Regions from separate parts of the Homo sapiens genome. Here region 2 is linked to region 1. Evidence: promoter capture Hi-C in human tissues and cell types (Jung and others, 2019). All regions are on one chromosome and are shown on one strand. Each heading gives the region's core, a stretch centred on a gene start or on the middle of the fragment in contact. The rest is flanking DNA. Distances are from core to core; before and after follow the strand shown.

Region 1 (5,052 bases), core at 623-3,122:
GCTCAGGATCACTTTCACCTTGTCCCCCTCCGGGAACTCCATTGTTTCTTCTTCAGGCTTTAGGATGTCACCCTCCTTGGATGGGGTGGCTTCTTCTAGGGACTTGGGGCTGTCATCCTCCTTGGGCTGGATGGTTTCTTCTGGGGACTTGGGGATGTCAATCTCCTTGGGTGGGATGGCTTCCTCTAGGGACTTGGGAATGTCACCCTCCTTGGGCTGGATGGCTTGTTTTGGAGACTTGGGAATGTCACCCTCCTTGGGCTGGATGGCTTCTTCTGGGGACTTGGGGATGTCACCCTTCTTGGGCTGGATGGTTTCTTCTGGGGACTTGGGGATGTCACCCTCCTTAGGCTGGATGGCTTCCTCTAGGGACTTGGGGATGTCACCCTCCTTGGGCTGGATGGCTTCTTCTGGGGACTTGGGGATGTCACCCTCCTTGGGCTGGATGGCTTCCTCTAGGGACTTGGGGAGGTCACCCTCCTTGGGCTGGATGGCTTCTTCTGGGGACTTGGAGATGTCACCCTCCTTGGGCTGGCTGGGCTTCACTGAGGCCTTGGGAATATTGCCCAGCTTGGGCTGGATGGGCTTTGCTGAGGACTTGGGGATGTCACCCTCCTTGGGCTGGATGGTTTCTTCTGGGGACTTGGGGATATCACTCTCCTTGGGCTGGCTGGGCTTCACTGAGGTCTTGGCAATATTGCCCAGCTTGGGCTGGATGGGTTTTGCTGAGGACTTGGGGATGTCACCCTCTTTGGGCTGGATGGCTTCTTCTGAGGACTTGGGGAGGTCCTCCTTCTTGGATTGGATGGTTTCTTCTGGGGCCTTGGGGATGTCACCCTCCTTGGGCTGGCTGGGCTTCACTGAGGCCTTGGGAATATTGCCCAGCTTGGGCTGGATGGGTTTTGCTGAGGACTTGGGGATGTTACTCTCTTTGGGCTGGATGGCTTTTTCTGAGGACTTGGGGAGGTCCTCCTTCTTGGATTGGATGGTTTCTTCTGGGGCCTTGGGGATGTCACCCTCCTTGGGCTGGATGGTTTCTTCTGAGGACTTGGGGCTGTCATCCTGCTTGGGATGGCTGGTGTTTGCTGAGGACTTGGGTAGGTCATCGCCCTCCTGTGAGGCATCAGACTCCTCTGTGCGCATGTGGAACGTGTGGCTGACCATGGGGAGAAAGGCCTTCTCTTTGGCCTGGGCTATTTCCAAGAACTCTAGGGCCAGGAGAGGCACGTTGCTGGACAGGACTAGTAATGAGCTTTCTGTACCAAAAAACATAAAATAAAATAAAATAAAATAAATCAAATAGAAATGCAAAAGAAGAACCAAAGAAATTCTCTTCATATTCCAAGGAAGACTGATGTCACTCTTCGAGATCACGAATGAAGTCTGATGAATGATGTATTAATCTGAAAAACTCATTCAGCAGAAGGACAAACAGCGTGTGGTTACACGTATCTTCTGTATACATGTTCTTAAGCTACAACTTTCCCTTCTTGGTTCAACACCCTGCCCGCTCCCTAACTGCATAGGTCTTTAAGGCAACCCTCTTTCCTCCCCTACTTACCATTAGCATCACCTTCACTTGTTTCTTCCTGAGTGCCCAGCCTCATTTCTGGTTTTCCAGAGGCTCCAGCTTTAACACTTTCCATTCCTAGTTCCTTGTCTACATCCATTCCTGATCCTTCATAGATGCCTCATAGTAAAGGCCGTACCCTCCAACTTTTTCCAAGCTATCCATCCTAACATCAAAATATGAGTAAAACTTACATTTGGGTGGCACGTTACAGTTGGTTTTCCCTCTCTGTATTCACAACAGTGATATTTGAGAGCTTCAAGGTGGCTCCCCTGTGCTGAGGCTGGGACTACGCATTCACTGGCATCATTTCCTAGAACACAACAAACCACTGAGGTCAGAACCATTATGATGAGTAGTTTACACATGAGAAGCTATGTAGCTCACTTAAGGTCACAAAGCTAGGGTGGGGGCAGGCTCCAAAGCTCATGCTCTGCACTGTGAGGCTGTGCTGGACTGCTCGCCACAAGTCCCGTCCAGCCTGGGTTCTGTGAATCAACCATCTTATCATCTTTCTCCAGGATCCCCCAGCTCCAACATTCTCTTTACGACTCACCCATTGTGACCAGCTCCTAAGTATCTCCTCGAAACCATGTTAGCCTCCTCTGCAAAGTGTCCCACAATGTCAAATGTTCAGCTCCTGCTAGACAGCCTCTTTCCCCACCTCCCCCACCTCCCAGGCGCACCAGCCCAGCCTGTGCCCTCCCCCATGCAGACACATCCAAGTACACGGCTCTTCCAGCCTTTACATACAGGAGAACAACCTCTTTGTGAATAATCCTGGTTCCATAAGCCACATCTACCCCATCCTGTGGAATGGGAAGCCAAATACCTGTCCCCCAGGGAGACTTATTTTATTAGTTCAGGACCACTGGCTCATTTTCCACCCTCACTCTGCACAACACATCCAGTCCAAGGCAGGAAGAATCAGTGTGGAATTTTGCCTTCTCTACATGTACTTTGAACAAATCCTCATATGTTTCAGTTTCACCCCAACAATATAAGTGTTGAAAGTGGTCAGGCATGGTGGCTCACACCGTGATCTCAGTACTTTGGGAGGCCAAGGTGGGAGGATTTCTTGAGCCCAGGAGTTTGAGATCAGCCTAGGCAACATAGCAAGACCCCATCTCTACAAAAAATACAAAACCTAGCCAGGCACAGTGGCACACGCCTGTCCCAGCTACTTGGGAAGCTGAGGTGGGAGGCTTGCTTGAGCCAGTGAGTTCAAGACTGCAGTGAGCCGTGATCACTACATCGTACTCTAGCCTGGGCAACAGAGCAAGGCCCCGTCTCTAAAAACTAAAAATAAAAGTGTTGAAATCTAAATGATAAGACCTCCACATTGTCAATAGAAACCTCGAAACATCTAATGGCAATGGTTCAATTATCTGGATTTTTATACCAAAACACATTTTACTAAGGGGTAGAGAGACTATTGGCCTTAGCAAATCCATAGTTCCTTTTTTTTTTTTCTTTGAGACAGTCTTGCCCTGTCACCGAGGCTGGAGTGCAGTGGCACAATCTCGACTCACTGCAACCTCTATCTCCCAGGTTCAAGCAATTCTCTTGCCTCACCCTCTCGAGTAGCTGGGATTACAGGCATTCACCACCACACCCGGCTAATTTTTGTATTTTTTTTAGTCGAGACAGGGTTTCACCATGTTAGCAAGGCTGGTCTCTAACTCCTGACCTCAAACGATCCACCTGCCTCAGCCTCCCAAATTGCTGGGATTACAGGCGTGAGCCACCATGCCTGGCCCAGCAAATCCGTAGTTCTTGATGATATGAATCCTGTTCCAGGAAGAGCTCATGCTTCCACTCCGTTTCCTCGGTTACTGCCAAAGAAAGCTCTTCCCTCTCTCACTGGGAGACTTTGGGCCTTTCTTATGTGATATTTTAAAGGACGGGAGGTTGTCTTCACTCTCCAATGCCAACGGCTTCCACAGCTGACAGGACTGTTTTTCATGGTGCCCTATTTTAAAGCAGAGGATGAAAATAAACGTCAGGCACTTATCTGGGCAATGTCTTCTTTCTTAGTGTTAGGAGAAAGGAGGTGAAGCGGGGAGGATAGGCATCATTTGCAGAAACCATCATGAGCAGATTTTATTAGCACAAAGTGGGCAGCATCTTTGGCCCTTGCTCATTGGTAAGTTAATTTACTTCCTGGGACCCTATCTTGTACAGGGTCCCTGCTGTTTGGAAGGGAGTGGATGAGGACACAGAGGAACTCCATCGCTGAGAGGCAGAAGTGAAAACATCACTCCTGCCATCCCAGTAGATGTGGAGGCAAGAGGACAGATGCCTGTGTCCCGGCCTCCTTTCTCCAGGTTGATTGCCAGCACAGATACTAATCAGATGTGCTACTCTACTAAAAATGCGATTTTAGATCTCTACTAAAAATACGAAAGTTAGCCGGATGTGGTGACAAATGTCTGTAATCCCAGCTACTCAGGAGGCTGAGGCAGGAGAATCGCTTGAACCTGGGAAGCAGAGGTTGCAGTGAGCGGAGATGGTGCCACTGCACTCTAGCCTGAGCAACAGAGCAAGACTCTCTCAAAAAAAGAAAAAAAAAAAAGATAAAAAAAGACTTGCAGCTGAAAGCAGAGGGGCATCTGCCTCCTGCTCCACTTGGAAGGCCAGGATGAGCCCACGTGGACTTCACATCCAACACAGCACTGTCCTCGTGCAGCGTGGCCCCTAGTAGAGGGTAAGAATGGATGTGTGGACCTGGGGCAGGCCCCACAGCCTGCAGGGAGGAGGTTAAAGATCTAGCAACGATGTACACCTCAGAGAGTGGCTGGGAGTGCTCTGAGACTGGTGAAAGATAGAGGCCTAGAGGAAGAAGACTCAGAGGAGGAGGATCTGTGACCAGAGGCAAGGACTGGAATCACAGACTCCAGCAGTGAGTAACATCACGATGCCCCTGTCCTAAATGGAATCAGTGGGTCCTTCAAGAGATCTCAGGCTGGGGACCAGGCCAGACCAGCCAATTCACATGGGAAACCAGCACGGGACCAGAGCACCCGGCACGTTTATCCGTGTAGCCCTGGGCATCCAGACACTATGGACAAAGTGAGAACTCTGAAAGATTGCACCGCTACACCATGGAAAAGGGTTCTTTGAGCCAAAATTCCACAAACAGGCAAACTTAATTCGGTTTCCCTGCTCCTCACCATCCCACCCCAAAACCCATTGAGATAAGGCTCATGGGAAGGATGAGCCATTCTAGAGAAATGTATAAGTGATATTGTACCTGAATGTCTTAGTAAAAGAGAGGAAATCTGTGATCCTGTTACATTTATACTTGGAGATCTTCGTTGTGTTTTAGGTTTGGCACTTGTTCCTGATATTTTTACTCTTCCTTCTGCAATTCAGATGAATTCCAAGCAACTTGAAATATTAATTCTTCCACTGACTTGTCATAAAATGTATGTTTTCCTTCAGCAGAAGCTCATTCCCAAATAGCTCATGAGCCCTTATGT
Region 2 (5,709 bases), core at 453-2,952, 370 kb after region 1:
CTGCCTAGCCTATAACTTTAGGCAATCTCAGAGAATGACGAACTGCACTACTGTTTATGTGTTTCAGTTATTCTCCTATGACACTTCACTCTCCTGTCACCAGCTGCTAAGTTCTTTATGGAGACTGCAGCAGGAACTGCAGACTCTTTTAAGTAGAGGATTGAACTGAGAAATTCCCTCATCTTTAGATGGTGGCCAAATCCACTGGGCCCACTTCCCTGCATCAGAAACCTCTGGTTTTTCACACACTGACAAATGTGCCCAATTGCTTTACCAACCATGTCAGAGTTGTCATAGTTTGGTTTTGTTGTTTTTTTTTTTAATATCTGTAACTCTCCTAATTCTTTTCCTTAGCTAGCTACCTTGCAAGCTATTATATAAAAGATAACAGCTATTTCCTAAGTTACCCTCTAACTAAAATACCATGTACCCCACACCAACCAGAATGGCAAGAATCTTAAGGACAAAATACCATGATGCTTTAGCAAGTGGAATATTCATACATTGCTGGTGAGAAGGTAAACTGGTACAAGCATTCTGGAAGACTGTTTTGCAGGGATCTACTGAAGCTGAAATACACATGGCCTACAAATGAGCAATTCCACTCCCAGGCATAAACATAACAGAAATACAAAAACATGTACACCACAGAAGCACTATTCATAACAGTCAAAAACTGAAAACCACCCAAACAAGCAACAAAAGTAGAAGAGATTAATAAACTCTAACATATAATGCAATGAAACAATATCTAGTGCAAAGATGAACAAATTACTGCCACATGGAATAACATGAATCAATCTAACAAACATGTTAGGTTAAAGCTGCCTCCTCATGTATTTTAAGTTTGGCCTAAAGGTTTCTCCGAACATAGGGAACTGTAACCTAACTGGATGTGTACACAGACTGTAATCTACTCTTGTACCAATTACAGAGTTTTGGCCAATCACAGGGGGGCAACTGTTCAAACTGCTCAAATAAGGCTAATGCCATGCTATAACCAATCCAGCTGTTTATGTACCTCACTTCTGTTTTCTGTGTGTCACTTTACATTTTCCGTCCATAAATATTACGTGACCATGTGGCAGCCCCAGAGTCGCTCTAAATCTATTCTGGTTTAGGGGCTACTGGATTCCCTAATCGTTCTTTGCTCAATTAAACTCTGTTAAACTGGCAAGGCAGGGTGGCTCACACCTGTAATCCCAGCACTTTGGGAGGCTGAGGTGGGCAGATCACTTGAGGTCAAGAGTTTGAGACCAGCCTCACCAACATGGTGAAACCCTGTCTCTACTAAAAATACAAAAATTAGCCAGGCATGGTGGCGGGTGCCTGTAATCCCAGCTACTTGGGAGGCTGAGGCAGGAGAATCACTTGAACCTGGGAGGCAGAGGTTGCAGTGACCCGTGATCACACTATTGCACTACAGCCTGAGCAACAGAGCAAGACTCTGTCTCAAAATAAAAACACAAAAGAAAAAAAACCCATTAAATTTAGTTTGTCTAAAAGTTTTACTTTTAACATATAATATTGGGTAAAAGAAGCTAGACACAAATAGAAGTATGCGTAAGTTTAAAATCAGGCAGCATCAATCAACAATAAAAGAAGTTTACTTATGGGAGGGGTAGGTGATTCCCTTTAAAGAGGCACAAAAGAAAATTGATAATGCTCTATTTCCAGATCCTTGTAGTGGTTACACAGGCATACCCACTCATCAAGTTGTATACAATTTGTGTACTCTGTGTAATTCTTCAAAAACAAATCAATTTAAAATGTCATGAAGTTCAAAATAAGGAATACTTAACATAACTCACTTTATTTGCTTTTAACATACTAAAAAGCCACGCTCAAATGATTCATCCTCCCTACTGAATAGGACCTCAAATGGAATGTATCATGGTATTTGCTTAAGATAAATAGCTACTTTATTGAAGGTTCCAAAAAAGTGTATCCCAAATAGCGAACACGACCTACCCAAGAAAAGTAAGATGCCTTAAGGGGAAAATTCCAGTATCTACCTTTTTTTGGGTGGGGCGTCAGCGGAGGAGAGGACAGAGTCTCACTCTGTCACCCAGGCTGGACTACAGTGGTGCAAGCATAGCTCACTGCAGCCTCAATCTCCTAGGCTCCTAAGCGGCTGTGACTACAGGCACACATCACCATGCTCAGCTAATGGTTTAAATTTTTGTTTCTCAGGCTCTTGAACTTCTGACTTCAAGCAATCCTCCCATCTCAGCCTCCCAAAGTGCTGGGATTATAGGCGTAAGCCACTGTGGCCAGCTTAATATCTTTCTAGACATCATTTTGAGTTATTACTTCAGGAAATATCCGCTAGAAAACTTTTCCATTTCTGGAAACTCAGTATTTTTATTTGTGAGATTAAGATCCCAAAATACAACTCTAATATACAAAAACTGAGACCCTGAAAAATAAAGAACAGAAAAGTCAAACAAGAATCTCTGCCTTCACATGTTTCCAGAAGACAGCTGGTACATGTAATTAGAGTGGAAGTTTATTTAAAATATATCTAGGACAGGCATAGTGGCTCACGCCTGTAATCCCAGCACTGTGGGAGGCCGAGGTGGGTAGATCACTTAAGGTCAGGAGTTCAAGACCAGCCTGGCCAACACGGCAAAACCCTGTCTCTACTAAAAACACAAAAATTAGCTGGGCATGGTGGCGCACGCCTGTAGTCCCAGCTATTCGGGAGACTAAGACATGAGAATTGCTTGAACCTCGAGGCGGAGGTTGCAGTGAGCTGAGATTGTGCTACTGCACTCCAACCTGGGCAACAGAGCAAGACTCTGTCCCAAAAAATAATAATAAAATAAAGTAAAATAAAATAAAATAAAAATATCTAGGCATAGGAAAAAATGGCACTTACTCCTCTTTTCCTTTTTCTTAAATTTCCCTTTTTTCTTCCCATGATCTTTCTCATCATCAGACACTACATCAGGAGGCTCATGGAGGATGTCATGGGGAGGTGAGGGCTCGCCAGTGCGGTACAATCCAGGAAACTTAGTAGGGCTGATCTCTTCAGAGCTGGGGGTCCGGGTAAGCCCGCTGCCATGCTCCACCCTGCGGTGTTCACTGGGGCTGCTGGTGGGGGGCAGGAAGCACTCAGTCATGCTGATGCCCTGACTAGGAAGGGACGAGGTCTTCTCTGTTACCTATCCATTACACCTGCACCAAGAGAAAAAACATTAGCAGAGTCACCTAACACCAAGGAACAAAAACACCACAGCATTTACAAATCAAAAATATTTTCTCCACAAACCCCCTTGTAAAAAACTCTTTCATTTTATTGTCTCGAGATATATTCCATGCATCACACATTTCAGTTCTCAGGGTTGAAAGCACTGGGATCTTCGAGTATTCAAAAAATAAATCAAATGAAAATCAGAGGTAGAGTTCTCAAAGTAGAATATGGAATTCCTTAAAAAAAAAAAACCACTCATCATTCTAAAGTGCTTCATTTTGACTGCTCCCCAACATAAAATCTTACTATTTTGCTTTATGACTAAACAACTATAAATAAGTTACAAAGACGACTTTATAACTACATATGAACAGTTCACATCATAATTAAATTTTATAATTAAAATGATATATTTAATGATTCATATAATTACAGACCACTGATTCTACGATGCATGCAATTTTATATGCAGCTCATGTATTGATAATAACTATATTTTTGTACTGCAGTTATGCTAAAAGAAATGAAGGAACCCTCATTTAATCAATCCTAAAATACATGCAAAATAGTTTTACTACAACAGATGCTACAAAGGACAAATGTAAGAGGAGTTCAAAATTTGTTTGCATTTTCTCCCTTCTTTAGGATGGTAGGTACACAGTCAAAGTACTGCGTTTGAAAGTTACTTGGATTAATTCTTATTCCTCTTTAATGTCATTATGATATTCATTTGAAATACTATCAGAATCACTTTTTCTCTTTGCGCTCATTTATTTTTTTTATTTTTTTTGAGAGATGGAATTTCGCTCTTGTTGCCCAGGCTGGAATGCAATGGCGCAATCTCGGCTCACTGCAACCTCCGCCTCCCAGGTTCAAGTGATTCTCCCGCCTCAGCCTCCTGAGTAGCTGGGATTACAGGTGCCTGCCACCACACCCGGCTAATTTTTTGTATTTTCAGTAGAGACAGGGTTTCACCATATTGGTTAGGCTGGTCTCGAACTCCTGGCCTCAGGTGAGTCACCCGCCTCGGCCTCCCAAAGTGCTCGGATTACAGGTGTGAGCCATCGTGCCCGGCCTCTCTTTGCACTCACTTTAAATGTTAACTTTACAATTTAAAAAATCCACAAGCCATAAGTGACAATTCTGAGACCATAAATAAAGTCAAAGGACAAGCAAATGTGGAAAAAAAAAAGTTGCAAATTGGGAGAGGTAATTTCTTTAAAAAGCAAAGAGTTATTAACAAATTAATGAAAATAGCAACAAATTAAGAGAACCAGACAAAGGATGTGAACAGGCAGTTCACAGAAAAGTGGCTAAAAAATGAGTGGAAACAATGTTCAACTTCAATTATAATTTTTTAAACAATGAGCTATCACTTTTCTAATGTAAGAGTGGCAAAGTACAAAATGGCACATATAAGATCCATTATGATGGTAAGGATAGAGGAAACAAGACTCACGAGAACACCTACTAATGGTAGAAGTATAACATGATCCTTTTTGAAAAGCAATCTTATCGTAGCTATTAAAATTTTAAATCTATTCTCTTTGATCCAGAATTCTGCTTTTAGGAAATTATTCTTCAGATATACTTTCACAAAAATGCAAAGATATATGCAAGAAAATATTCACTGCAGTACTGTAAAAACAAAAAACAAGATAATCTAAAATGCTATCAATAGAATACTGATTAAATTATGGTTTATCCAAATAGGCTATAAAGTCACACACACACACACAGTTTCTGAAAACATGTAAGAAACGGTTAATTACTGTTAACTCTTGGAAGCGTCAGAAGGGTAGACTTTATTCTAACACTTAAAAAAATGAAAAGGGGCCTGGCACGGTGGCTCATGCCTTTAATCCCAGCGCTCTGGAAGGCCAGGGTGGGTGGATCACTCAAGCCTAGGAGTTTGAGACCAGCCTGGGCAACACGGCGAAACTTTGTCTCTAAAAAAACAATACAAAAAATTAGCTGGGCGCATGCATGTTCTCACTCATAGGTGGGAACCGAACAATGAGAACACTTGGACACAGGATGGGGAACACCACACACTGGGACCTGTGGTGGGGTGGGGGGAGGGGGGAGGGATAGCATTAGGAGTATACCTAATGTAAATGATGAGTTAATGGATGCAGCACACCAACATGGCACATGTATACATATGTAACAAACCTGCACGTTATGCACATGTACCCTAGAACTTAAAGTATAATAAAAAAAAATTAGCTGGGTGTAGTGATACACGCCTATAGTCCTAGCCACTTGGGAGGCTGAGGTGGGAGGATCACTTGAGTTCAGGAGATGGAGGTTACAGTGAGCTGAGATCGCACCACTGCACTCCAGCCTGGGTGCCAGAGTGAGACCCTGTCTCAAATTAAAAAAAAAAAAAAAAGAACAAGCTGTTTTTTGATCCTGTAAAAATTATGTAACATTAAAAATCATGTTGACAATATTTAATGATGTGAGGAAAAAGCAATTTTATTTACAGCATATCAATTTAAATATATAAA

Evidence for each region. Contacts are between HindIII fragments. The study calls those that stand out against the background at their distance.
Region 2: a fragment that was not itself captured here is called in contact with the fragment with the promoter of TXNDC2 in region 1 in 1 of the 25 tissues and cell types used here (mesenchymal stem cells).

The regions. Positions count from the first base shown.
Region 1 is chr18:9,882,793-9,887,844 of GRCh38, reverse strand. TXNDC2 (thioredoxin domain containing 2) reads right to left here and starts at 1,872. Exons shown (of 2, transcript NM_032243.6): 1 at 1,765-1,872; 2 at 1-1,256. The coding sequence starts at 1,164. The HindIII fragment of the contact is 24,551 bases long and covers 1-5,052 here.
Region 2 is chr18:9,510,462-9,516,170 of GRCh38, reverse strand. It overlaps RALBP1 (ralA binding protein 1), which reads right to left. Exons shown (of 10, transcript NM_006788.4): 2 at 2,882-3,180. The coding sequence starts at 3,125. Among named protein-coding and RNA genes, the nearest start is that of RALBP1, 38 kb to the right of the region's middle. The HindIII fragment of the contact is 7,271 bases long and covers 1-5,337 here.